Regions from separate parts of the Homo sapiens genome. Here regions 1, 2 and 3 are each linked to region 4. The links are contacts of gene promoters, found by promoter capture Hi-C in blood cells and fetal thymus (Javierre and others, 2016). All regions are on one chromosome and are shown on one strand. The core of a region is centred on a gene start or on the middle of the fragment in contact, and the rest is flanking DNA. Distances in the headings are between cores, read along the strand shown. Region 1 holds the start of LBR (lamin B receptor). Region 2 overlaps MIA3 (MIA SH3 domain ER export factor 3). Region 3 overlaps MIA3 (MIA SH3 domain ER export factor 3). Region 4 holds the start of CNIH4 (cornichon family member 4).

The links. Contacts are between HindIII fragments. The CHiCAGO score rates a contact against its expected background, and 5 or more counts as called.
Region 1: a contact is called between a fragment that was not itself captured here and the fragment with the promoter of CNIH4 in region 4, in 2 of 17 cell types (erythroblasts and monocytes). The highest score is 8.2, in erythroblasts.
Region 2: a contact is called between a fragment that was not itself captured here and the fragment with the promoter of CNIH4 in region 4, in 5 of 17 cell types (non-activated CD4 T cells, total CD4 T cells, monocytes and 2 more). The highest score is 7.0, in non-activated CD4 T cells.
Region 3: a fragment that was not itself captured here is called in contact with the fragment with the promoter of CNIH4 in region 4 in 4 of 17 cell types (total CD8 T cells, activated CD4 T cells, naive CD8 T cells and 1 more); the score reaches 7.2 in total CD8 T cells.

What each region holds. Positions count from the first base shown.
Region 1 is chr1:225,426,022-225,428,751 of GRCh38, reverse strand. It overlaps LBR (lamin B receptor), which reads left to right and starts at 714. Exons shown (of 14, transcript NM_002296.4): 1 at 714-798. RefSeq lists a silencer at 298-1,127 and enhancers at 960-1,631, 1,632-2,304. The HindIII fragment of the contact is 2,832 bases long and covers 1-2,676 here.
Region 2 is chr1:222,645,072-222,647,816 of GRCh38, reverse strand. It overlaps MIA3 (MIA SH3 domain ER export factor 3), which reads right to left. Exons shown (of 28, transcript NM_198551.4): 7 at 2,132-2,263. Among named protein-coding and RNA genes, the nearest start is that of MIA3, 28 kb to the right of the region's middle. The HindIII fragment of the contact is 1,853 bases long and covers 460-2,312 here.
Region 3 is chr1:222,618,742-222,621,686 of GRCh38, reverse strand. It overlaps MIA3 (MIA SH3 domain ER export factor 3), which reads right to left. Exons shown (of 28, transcript NM_198551.4): 2 at 395-528. Among named protein-coding and RNA genes, the nearest start is that of MIA3, 2.1 kb to the right of the region's middle. RefSeq lists enhancers at 2,550-2,609, 2,890-2,945. The HindIII fragment of the contact is 1,598 bases long and covers 897-2,494 here.
Region 4 is chr1:224,355,601-224,358,395 of GRCh38, reverse strand. CNIH4 (cornichon family member 4) reads right to left here and starts at 1,517. Exons shown (of 5, transcript NM_014184.4): 1 at 1,403-1,517. The coding sequence starts at 1,471. RefSeq lists enhancers at 667-1,167, 1,725-1,864 and a silencer at 1,075-1,444. The HindIII fragment of the contact is 2,727 bases long and covers 1-2,650 here.

The DNA of each region.
Region 1 (2,730 bases), core at 11-2,510, 1.1 Mb before region 4:
GCATCTCGACAGCATCTCGGGTAACAACCGAGCCCCTCCTCGCAGCGTAAGTCGTAGGAGCCCTCGGCCATTCTTCCCCCTCCCTCCCGCCGCCGGTCCCAGCATCGGTCCGGGTTCGCTTCTACGCAGGTTCAGCGGCCGCGGACACAAAAGCGCCCCTGCTCGCCTTCGATGCCGCTGCTTGGTCCAGGGGCTTCTGTGGGATTTTAACACGCTAAGGAGGGCACTCATAGTGTTTTACCGAGAAACGCTTTCGAGCTCGGATCTTTGGTGATCACTTCAAGAATGTATTAGTTTTCTTTGTAGCTTAAAAAAAAATCTCGTTCGCCAAGCCACCTGGCACCCCAAACACTGCTGCGAGCGCTGGGAGGGAAAGGGCGGGAGCGCGCGGGCTCCGTGTGCTGCGAGGGCGCCTGGGCGGCTGAGATAAGGCGGTGGCAAACGTCGCGCTCCGGGCCGCCCCGCCAGACTCGGTTTCCCCCGCTCACCGGCCTCCCCGCCCCCAGGCAGGGTGGGGCGGGGCGGACGCGCCACGGCGCGCGACCAATCGACAGCGCCGGGGATGATTCAAAAGGTCGAGGAGCCAATGGGAGCCCCGGGCGGCCTCGCCGGTGGGGAGGGGAGGCGAGGGGAGGGGAGAAGCGCCGCGAGGCGGGGCCGGGGAGGCGCGCGCCCGGCTTGCGGGACTGCGGGGCGCGAGAGCGCGGCCGGGTAGCGTCGCGCGCGTGGATCTGCCGCCGGGTTGCTGTGCGACTATTCTCCGGGAGCCGTCCGTGTCACCGCCGGAACCTGGCGCAGGTGAGTGCTTCCACCCCCGCCCTGCTCCCAGCTCCCCGCGGCGCGTTCTTCGAGGGGCCGCTGGGGGAGGAAGCCCGAGGCCGGCGCAGCGGCCGGGCCGGGGACCCTGGGCGCGGGGCCTGGCGCGGCGGCCTTCCCCTCCTCTCCTCGCCTCCTCGTCTCCTCCCCTCCTCGCCTTTTCTGGCCCAGTCGGGTGGTCGGGGCGGCGGCGGGCGAGGCTGGAGCTCGCCCGAGCCGGGCCCGCTGCGGAAATGGAGCTGGGGGTTTTAAACTGCGGACGTTTCCCTCCATGTTGGCGGCGCGGCGCGGCTGTGGAGCGGCGGCGGCAGGGAGGGTTCGTGGGCGCCTTTGTCCTGCCCCACCGCAGCCTGGCTCCCGGCCCCTCCGAGCGCCCGTCTGACAGATGAGCAGGCGGCCCCGCGGTCCTGCAGTAGGAGGCTGACAGGGCGCGGCGGCCTGGCGGGACGGGGAAGGGTCTGCGGCCGAGGTGGGCTTAGATTCGCGCTGCTTGTCACTGGCTTTGAGGGTCGTGGTCGTCGCGGTTTGGTGATTCTCCAGGCACACTGCATGGCTGCTCGCTCCTATGCGTTGAATTCCTTCGCCCGGACAGTCTCAAAAATCGGGTATTTAGGCGGGTGTGCGTGTTCCTGCTAAAGCACGGTCCTGCTTTTTCACCTTTTTGAGGGTTCAGAAAAATGTTCTAATGACAGCCAGCCTCGCACTGCCAGTAGCCTCAAGGGGCACTTAGTAAAGCACTTGCTTTCGGAGGGCTTTGTTGAAGGCGCTTTCCCAGAGTGATTACGGGGCCCGGTCGGGTGTTCACACGAGGGCGCGGTAGATACCGTGGTCCGCGCGTGGACACCTGCAGCGCGAGGCGCGGCGCCTGGGCAGTGCCAGGGTGAACAGGCCCCCGGGGACCTTGCACGTAAACACGTGTAGATCTGTAGTTACGCATTGTAGTAACTGGTGTGTGGGAGAAGATGGAGCTACGGAGAAGAGCAGAGGGATCCTAATTTAGATTAGGCAACAAGTCCAGTTTAAGTTTTGTTTCTCAGGCTGCCTGGGAAGAGGGAGAAGAACGAGCAGGAGGGGAATGATGAGCTGCCCAAGGATGTTTATGGGGAAGAAGGCGCTTCTGCCTTTACAGCCAGGAAGGTGGCCTTTCTGTTGCTTCATGAAGCAAAGGGCGCGGAGCAAGGCCCGGGGTTCCTGTTTGCATTTTGCCTAGTGGGGCTACCGGGGCTCAGGTGTGAAAAGGAAGCTGTCCAACGTCATTCGAGCGTCTTGCTCTATGCCACGTTTAGATGAATTTGGAGAAGTGAAGGAAAGATGGCTGGAGACCCCTGTAATGTTAATGAGCAGAGAATTGTTGTGTTCACAAACAGTAACATACCGGAGCTGGAATGTGTGAGGATTGCAGTGCCAGTTGACTCTGAAGTTAGCGGGCATCTGGCTTAATAGAGAAAAACCTGAGGGTCTCCGTGTTTTTCCTGTTTATGGCGAATGAGGACATTGGGTGCAGTGAACAAAATTTTTCTTTACAAACACACTTGCCTAAAACATCTCTTGTAAGAAAATCCTGTGTGTATCTTGACTCCTGTAGGTGAGTGCATAGTGAGTGACACGAACAAATGTGGGGCTTTTGTGTGCCATCCTGGCTATTTCACTCCTGTGGGGGAATATATTAGGATGTGATTGCACTGTATCCTCACGTTTGACAATTGTGTGTGGATCTTGTGTAAAGTGGGGGTGCACATCATGTTGTTGGCTTCATCTTTTGGAACATTTGTGTATAAGATAATGGTCTTCTAAGAAGAATGCCGGTTCATTTTGTTTGTTTTTCAAGCAAATCTTAATTCTTCTTTTAAAAAGTAAGCTTTAGAGACCTAACAGGTATCCACCATATGTGTTAACTTGTTTAACCCAGAATAA
Region 2 (2,745 bases), core at 137-2,636, 1.7 Mb after region 4:
TCTAATGTCATGGCCTTGCTAATTCCTCTGCTCCATTTCACCCAAACTAACAGGCAAGCAGAGACCAAGGTTCCAAAAGTCAAGTGCTGAGGCTGAGGAACAGCAGTTAGGACACAGAGCCTATATAACTTTCTGAAAAACGAAAAAGGCGTTAGAATTTTTTTATTAACAAATAGGAGAAACAAGAGTGGGAAATGTAAAATGTTTTCAACTTTTCCCCTTCCATTTACCCTTTGATTCTCCCTTTTTATCTGAAGAAAAGCACCAGGAGGTTAGAGAAGGCCTCACAGGAAAAAAGACCCTTCTTTTTAAGTAATTTTACAATCAATTGTGAGAGAAAATTTATTAATGATGATATATGTGATATAATTATGAAATCAGAAAAAGAGTACTCAGTTTTAGAAAGATTTGCATCCAATAATTTTGGCCATTTTAACTGTGAAGTTTCAATACAAAGCTTTTCATCTGCAAAGCTCATTTACACAAATAATCTTCTCCCAATTATGTTAAATAACTATGCAGCTGAATGCTATATAGTATAATCATAAGGATGTACAAGTATGAGTATACACACTTATACAAACATGTTTAAGTCTGAAAGGCAAATTCTGCACAGAAGATAAAAAAATTAACGGTGTGTCTTTACACATGATATAATTTGCATTTCGAAATAAAAAGATATTTTCTGAGTAAAATAGTACATGATGAAATCAGAAAATCTGGAAAATACACATTTTTTAAAAACTGAAAACTTACCTCATCTCCTAGATATAAGAATTTTTATCATTTTATTGTATTTCCTTGCAGCATTTATTTTCTGTGTGTATGTTTATGTAATATACAGTTTATCTATACCTTAAAGTCTTGGTTTCTACTTTTTTTCTACTTCATGTTAAATTGTGAGTATTTGTTGTGCTCCTATGTCTTTGAATTATATAAAGCAGCCTAATATCCCATTATATGAACATACAATAATTTAACAATTTTCCCACTGTGAATCACAGTAGGTTGTGTCAAAGTTTTCACTCTAATAAATACTGTTCTACTGAATGCTCTCATGTAAGATATTTAAAACTTTTTTTTGAGACAGAGTCTCACTTTGTCGCCTAGGCTGGAGTGCAGTGGCATGATCTGCTTCCCCAGTTCAAGCGATTCTCCTGCCTCAGCCTCCCAAGTAGCTGGGATTACAGGCTCCTGCCACCACCCCCGGCTAAGTTTTGTATTTTTAGTAGAGATGGGGTTTTGTCTTGTTGGTCAGGCTGGTCTCAAACTCCTGGCCTTATGTGATCCACCCGCCTCCGCCTCCCAAAGTGCTGGTATTACAGGTGTGAGCCACCACGCCCGGCCATGTAAGATATTTAATGCATGATTGGTTATTTCTTTCTTTCTTTTTTTTTTTTTTTGAGATGGAGTCTCACTCTGTCACCCAGGCTGGAGTGCAGTGGCACATCTCAGCTCACTGCAGCCTCCGCCTCCCAGGTTCAAGCGATTCTCTGCCTCAGCATCCCGAGTAGCTGGGATTACAGGCATGTGCCACAACACCTGGCTAATTTTCGTATTTTTAGAAGAGATGGGGTTTCATCATGTTGGCTAAGCTGGTCTCGAACTCCTGGCCTCAAGTGATCCGCCTGCCTCGGACTCTCAAAGTGCTGGGATTACAGGTGTGAGCCACTGTGCCGGCTGACTGGTTATTTCTTTAGGATCGATTACTAGACATGACATTAATACAATATAAAAGGATATAACCATTTTTAAGGCTTATCATACACATCATGAAACTATTTTTCAGGATGGCTCTAAGAATTCCTAGTTCTACTAACAGTGTACATATGACCTATCTAATTCTTTCTTTTCATCCTTTGTGAGTTGAAATACAGACCCACCTAATTCTTAAAATTTAGACTTTGATATGAGACATATAAACTGAAGTTTTCCCACTGAGATTATACATGTTGTCTTATTCACTTAAGAATTTACCAACACAAAAATTATACTAAATTATTTTACAAGGTTAGCTTGAATTAAAAGCATTAATTTCTGTTCATATTAGAAACTGAAAAAGAAACAAAAGGACTGTGATTATAAAACCATACTTGAATTTATGAGTTAAAGTATGCATTAATTTACTCACAACAAGGACAGTTCTCCATAAGAAAATGGCAAACGAAGCAATTCCCAAGAAGGCAGTGATAAATACAGGTTTCCATGGCAGTCCATAAAAATCAGGCCCAGGCTGAACATCATCAGGCAATGTAGCAACTAGCTGAATGTTAGAAATAATGTTAGAAATAATGAGAAACCTTAAAGAAGCTTACCATAAAGCAGTCACAAAGACTCATTCACAGAAATTCTAAACCAACTCTATCAGATACCTATCCCCTCAAAAATCTTCAGTAGCTCTCACTGCTTTAAGAAAAACAGGATACTGGGAGTCTCATACTTATTGTTTGGCCTGTGGTGTTTTGAAGTACTATGACTCTAAATGTCTTTAGGTTGGGCATATATTTCTAGTTTCAATAGGCCCTGATACAATATGTTATCTAAAACATGGCTGGAATCTCTCTGCATCATACTTTTGTCTTGAATAAATTGGTTTTTATTGCTTAAAAAACCACATAAGACAAAAAACCTTTTATATACAAGTAACTAACTTTTTATGGCTGCAAATAAAACCAATATGATGATAATGAATATCACAAATAACGTTTTATTCCTCTAAGATTTAAAATCTTAAATCGACTTACA
Region 3 (2,945 bases), core at 446-2,945, 1.7 Mb after region 4:
ACACATAAAATCAACTTTAAGCTTACATGCCTGAAACACTCTCTCACATATAGTTTACAGGAGTAAGTCTAATTCCTATGAATACTTCCTTTTTAAAGCAATGAAGTATTTTTCAGCTCTTACCATTTCAACCTCTAATACGTATGCAGCATCCTAGAGGTTGACCCTGAGGGGAACTTGCCAGAATCAGTTCTATTTCAGAAGGCTCTGCTGAGCCCCTACTCTGTGCAGACCCAAGGCCTGCTGGGGACACAGGGCCATCTTTTTTCACAGTCAGGCAGAGAGGACAAGTTAACTCCATCAAAGGTCCCAAGAAAATGCAGTCATTTAACTCTACAGTGCTAAAGAAGCCAATAAAAATTAAGCAAATAAAGTATGTCGATATTTTACTTACACTTCCAGCCCAAACTTCAGGCCATCCTCTTGCCAGTTTATAGTAAACATATACAGGATCACCTTTTTTAAAATTCACAAAACGACAATCCGGGCCTGTGAAATCTTCAAGAGCCTCACCGCGGTACATTAACACTGTATATAAAGAGAGAGAAAAAAAATAGCCAGATATCAGGATTCAGTGTTCACAGTGCATATTGATTTATCAGGAAATATAAGAATCCCACTATAAACAACAACCAAGTTTTTCCAGTACTCTCTGGAATTTCTTTCATATGCTCAAAGTATCTCAAATCCTTTGAGCTTTACTGCTATAAATCATACCTTCTGCAAGCAGACAAGGGAAAGGAAAACCTTCTCTATTTTTCTCTATGGATAATACTGAGAAACAAAAAGCAATGTGCCAACTACCACACATGGCTTTTCTCACCCAAGTGAAACTCTCGATTCCCTCTCTAACCTTCTAGTCCTCAATCTTTTCTGTTTCATATTCATAAAAAGCTTCCTTTTGCAAATGGGTAAATTCAAGCCCAGATGATGATTAACTTAAGCATGGCTACATGAACGGGTAATAGGGAACTAGAGTACCCAGGAACCCCCAAGAGGTCAATTAACTTGAACTAACCACTAAAAGGGTCTATCTTCAAGTGACTGTAACCAGTACTATGTAGCAGTAAACACTGTCAATTTCATTTGCAGCCAAGTTGTTCCCTTAGTACAGTGTCTGGATAAATTAATGGGAAAAGATATCTATCACACCCTACTATAGATTCAATTACATCACAAGGCAATATTTTCTGAAAGTAAATAATGTTGACTGTATCCAAAATTAAGTTTCAAAACAAAGGAAAGAATACCCTTATGTATATTTTTCTATAAACAAAATCAAAAGTCGACATCTCATTTGGCTGGGACTAAGCAAAACTATGAGAATAGGTCAGTAATTCAATCACGCTTGATCTAGAAACTGGCTGAAGCAGTACTTTTATTTTTGTTGACCACATACACAGTTTCCCATGTAAGATGAAATGGACAATAAATACATCTAAATAGCAGAGACAAAGAAGGACGAATAGAAATAAGATTTTTTCCAAAAGCCAATTTGCAATAAAATACATTAAAAACGTGCCTTTAAATGGCTATACACGCATATAGATTTGGAAGGGGCTACTTGTTTTTTGAAGCTAAACTCTGATTACTTTCCAACATGTCAGCTTTGTAGCTCAGATATAATTGAGTGTGAGGCCAGGTTTAAGATGATGGACAATTTAAGGTTGGGAATAAGATCAGAATTGAAAATGGCAATGTTTCTTTTGCTCCCCCTTACAATAGATCATAGAGGATTTATAATAATATTTGAGATGCCAACAAAATGCACCCTGTGGAACAGCTATTTGAAAACCACACAAGGGCACCGTACATACTCACATTACTAAACACTTTCTACAACACAACACAGACCCATCTAGACCTTGCTCCTGTTGATGCCTATTGTATTTGGTTTCCTCTGAACACGTACCATTTCTCAAGTTATGTTACAACCGTGAGCTCTTCTAACATCATGCCTCAGTACTGAAGAAGCATCAGTGATGTGATGATTCTCCAGGTAACCTGTTTTGAGGAACCCAGGCAGGGCAATGCTTGCAAGCAAAGAATACCAACTATCTTGCCATTGCCAACGGCAAATGGGTAACAGCGTGGCTTTGACCCAAGAAAACTAAAGGGAAAAATCATGGCAGTTGTACCGCTTTTGTAGTGTTTATTTACATCAACCACAGGGTTATCTCTAGGAATGGCTTCACACTCATTAGAGATCTCTTTTCTTGATTAGTGTTGTAGAGATACAAACAGTTCATATTATGAAATTCGGTTTTGATAACATCAATTTGAATATAAATAGCTAAACCATAGAGTTCTTGGCCTTCTTAAAATGAATACGTTTCTATAGGCATTGCTTAACAGTGTATGAAAAACCGTTTCTGCAGTGGCTATCAGTAAGTTACAAGGTTGAGACGGTCTGGGAGGCCCTAAAATGATCCTGGTCCGGCGAACATAGAGGGAAGAGGTTTCAACACGCAAGCGGCTAAGGCTAAACCAAGCTTGGCTTATGAGACCCTTGGAGTATTTACTGTCATTCCTGTAATAACCTTCTTCATCTGAGCCTGAAGATCTGTGCCCTCTCCACCGCCCACCTCCAATCCCAGACTGGAGAGCAATTCCGCTTCCTGCGCACAGAAGAGGAGGCTGCCGGTCCCAGGTGGCCGGTGCAGATCCTCGGTCTCTGCAGAGCGAAAGATTTTGGTCTTCCTGCAGTCCTGCCTAGCAGTCTGCAAGGCGGCTTCCAAGCACAGAAACGACAGGATTGATCAAAGTCGGGGCAGAGACCTCGGAATACAATGAGTGCTTGGACTCCAGACTCGTCCCAAACCTAAACTCCCAATTCCTGTTCAAAAGGCGGTACAAGCCCAAATCCCAATAAAGCAGAAGGGCAAAGGAGCAGCGCCAGGGAGCCTTTCCAAACAAACCCCACCATCAACCTGCCACTGGGAAAA
Region 4 (2,795 bases), core at 268-2,767:
CTCCCCAAACCTACTAAAACTCAGAAATCTTGTCGTTAGATATCATCAAAGTAAAAACTGCTGCTCAATTGGGGAGGGTGGGGACACGAAGGCAGAGCAATATTTACTGAACATTAGCTATGGGGCAGGCACTGTGCTAGGGTGCTCAGCACCATTCTCATTGTGCATATCTAGGAAATAAACATTTCCTATTTTAAAGATCAGAAAACTGAGGCTTAGGGAAATAATGTGCAAGCAAAGAGCTAGCTGACCAGGAAATCTGATTCCAAATTTTGTCCCTTTCCACTACAACAGGATGCCAGTCCACAATGAAAAATGAAGCTGCACTGAACATATACTCTGTACGACTATCCTAAAGCCCGCATGCTCTAGCAAACAAATGGTTTAATCCGATCAGAAACAGGTACATGTGATTTCCAAGAAAGGAAGCTGAAATGCGGAGTTCCTCATACGTTTTTTCTTATATTTAATTACTTAAACCTGGATGGTGCAATACAACATTGGGCAACAACTAAGCCTAGATGCTTTGTCAAGAGATGGGAAGAGTTGTAGCCGACATGGCTACTGCAGTGCTAAATTCAACCACCATTTATTGCTCTGGAAAACAGTTTGAATACTGCAACTTAAGTTTTAACATGGATCGATAGAAAAATTTAAAAGCTGAGAAACGATTGGGAACTACAGCAGATGTAGTTATTGAATTTACAGATCTGCAACCACCGGGGACAACCAAAATAATCACTTTGTAGACAGTTGTTAAAACAACTCCTTTCCAACACTCACTACAAAACGGCACAGTGAAGGAAGCAACTTCGCTCCTTTGGCGAATGAGTCAACTCCTGGATGTGAAAGGTCCCTGCAAGTACTAACACCCGCCAGAACAAAGGGGCGGGTGCCGGGGGTGTTGCGTGGGGAACAGGAGGAGGCAAATGGCCCGCACTTATCCCGGCACCCGACTGTCGCAAGCGACCGCCCTTGGGACCCCCAATATCCGACGAAGAGCACGGCGCAGGGCCTCTCCCAGAAAAACAGCGACGCTTCTCTCCCGAGGGCGGCCGTGGCTCAGGCAGGGCTGGTCCGGGCGCCGCGGGGACGAGCGGAGAGCAGGCGGGCAGGCCGAGACGGGGCGCGCCCGGAGAGGCCCACTCGGACCCGAGTGAGGGGCGGCCGGCAACCCAGGCAGGGCAAGTGCGTGCAGGGCAGCAGGGCCCGTCGGGTAGGGCAGCCAGCCTCTCCTACCCGCTCCGGGGCCCGCGCCACCGCCCCGGCCAGGCCAGCTCCCAGGGAGCCCACGCCCGCCGCCGGGCGCCTCCCTAGTCCCACACACCTGCCCGGGTGCCCAACTGGCCCACCCTCAGCCGTGTCCCCCGGCAAGGCGTTCGCCTGCCTCAGGCAAGGATACGAAGTAGACCGAGAGGAAGATGAGCGCGCAACAATCGAGGAGAGAGAAGACGAACACCACCGCCTCCATCCTCCTCCTCCGTCGCCGCCGCTCCTTCCGTCAAACCCGCTCGGATGCCCCGACCCACCCCTGATAGGCCCTTGCCGGGGCTGGCTGAGGCGTGTGGTCCTCGAATCCTGGTGTGGCATGCCGGGAGTTGTAGTCCATATTTTAAAAAACTCTACGGCCCTAATTCTGACGCATGCTGGGAATTGTAGTTCATTAGTACAAGTCCATATCAAAGAGGTGGGCAGGGCCTCTTTCATAAATCCGATTATTTCCAGAAATGGAATTAATCAACAAGTATTTACTCAACGCTTTTCTTTTAAAGAGCTGGGGTCTTGCTCTGTCGTCCAGGCTGGAGTGCAGTGGCGTGATAGAGCTCACTATGACCTCGAATTCCTGGGCTCAAGCAATCCTTCCACCTCAGCCTCCCGACATGCCCAGCTAATTTTATTTTATTATTTCTCATTTTATTTTATTTTTTGAGACAGGGTCTCACTCTGTCGCCCAGGCTGGAGTGCAGTGGCATGGTCACAGCTCACTGCAGCCTCTACCTCCTGGCCTCAGGTGATCCTCCCACCTCCGCCTCCTGAGTACCTGGGATTACAGGAATGTACCACCACGCCTGGCTAATTTTTTGTATTTTTAATAGAGATGGGGTTTTTGCCATGTTGCCCAGGCTGGTCTCGAATTCCTCGGCTCAAGCGATCTGCCTGCCTCAGTCTCCCACAGTGCTGGAATTACAGGCCTGAGCCACTGCACCAGTCTCTACTGAACGCTTTTAATCCGGATATCCAGTAGGATGTATTTCCCATGTGTGAAATTTTCTTTAGAGTTGGCTCTAGAACCATTGCATTCCCTGACTTAGGATTTGTAAGGGGTTTTCATCTCAAAGCACAAATCTAACTTAATGCTCCTGGCTTGACTTTTGCGATTTGCCCTTCCCTTCCTGATTTCAATTTCTCCAGAGATTTCACAGTCCTTTGTTTATCCTCTCCTACAGCAATGTTTCTCTCCTCTCTAGATTTTAAGATCTTTAAGAAGTGAATACGATGTCTTACTCATCCATTCATTCATTTAACAAATACAGTTGTATTTGCAGGGGCTACTTTCCAAGACCCCCAAGTGGATGCCTGACACGATGGATAGTACCAAACCTTATGTGTACTATGTTTTTTCCTATATATACATACCTATGATAAAGCTTAATTTATAGATCAGGCACAGTAGGAGATTAACAAGTAATAATAAGATAGAACAATTATACTGTAATAAAAGTTATGTAAATGTGGTCTTTCTGTCTCAAAATATCTTATTGTACTGACCCTTCTTTTTGAGATGATGTATGATG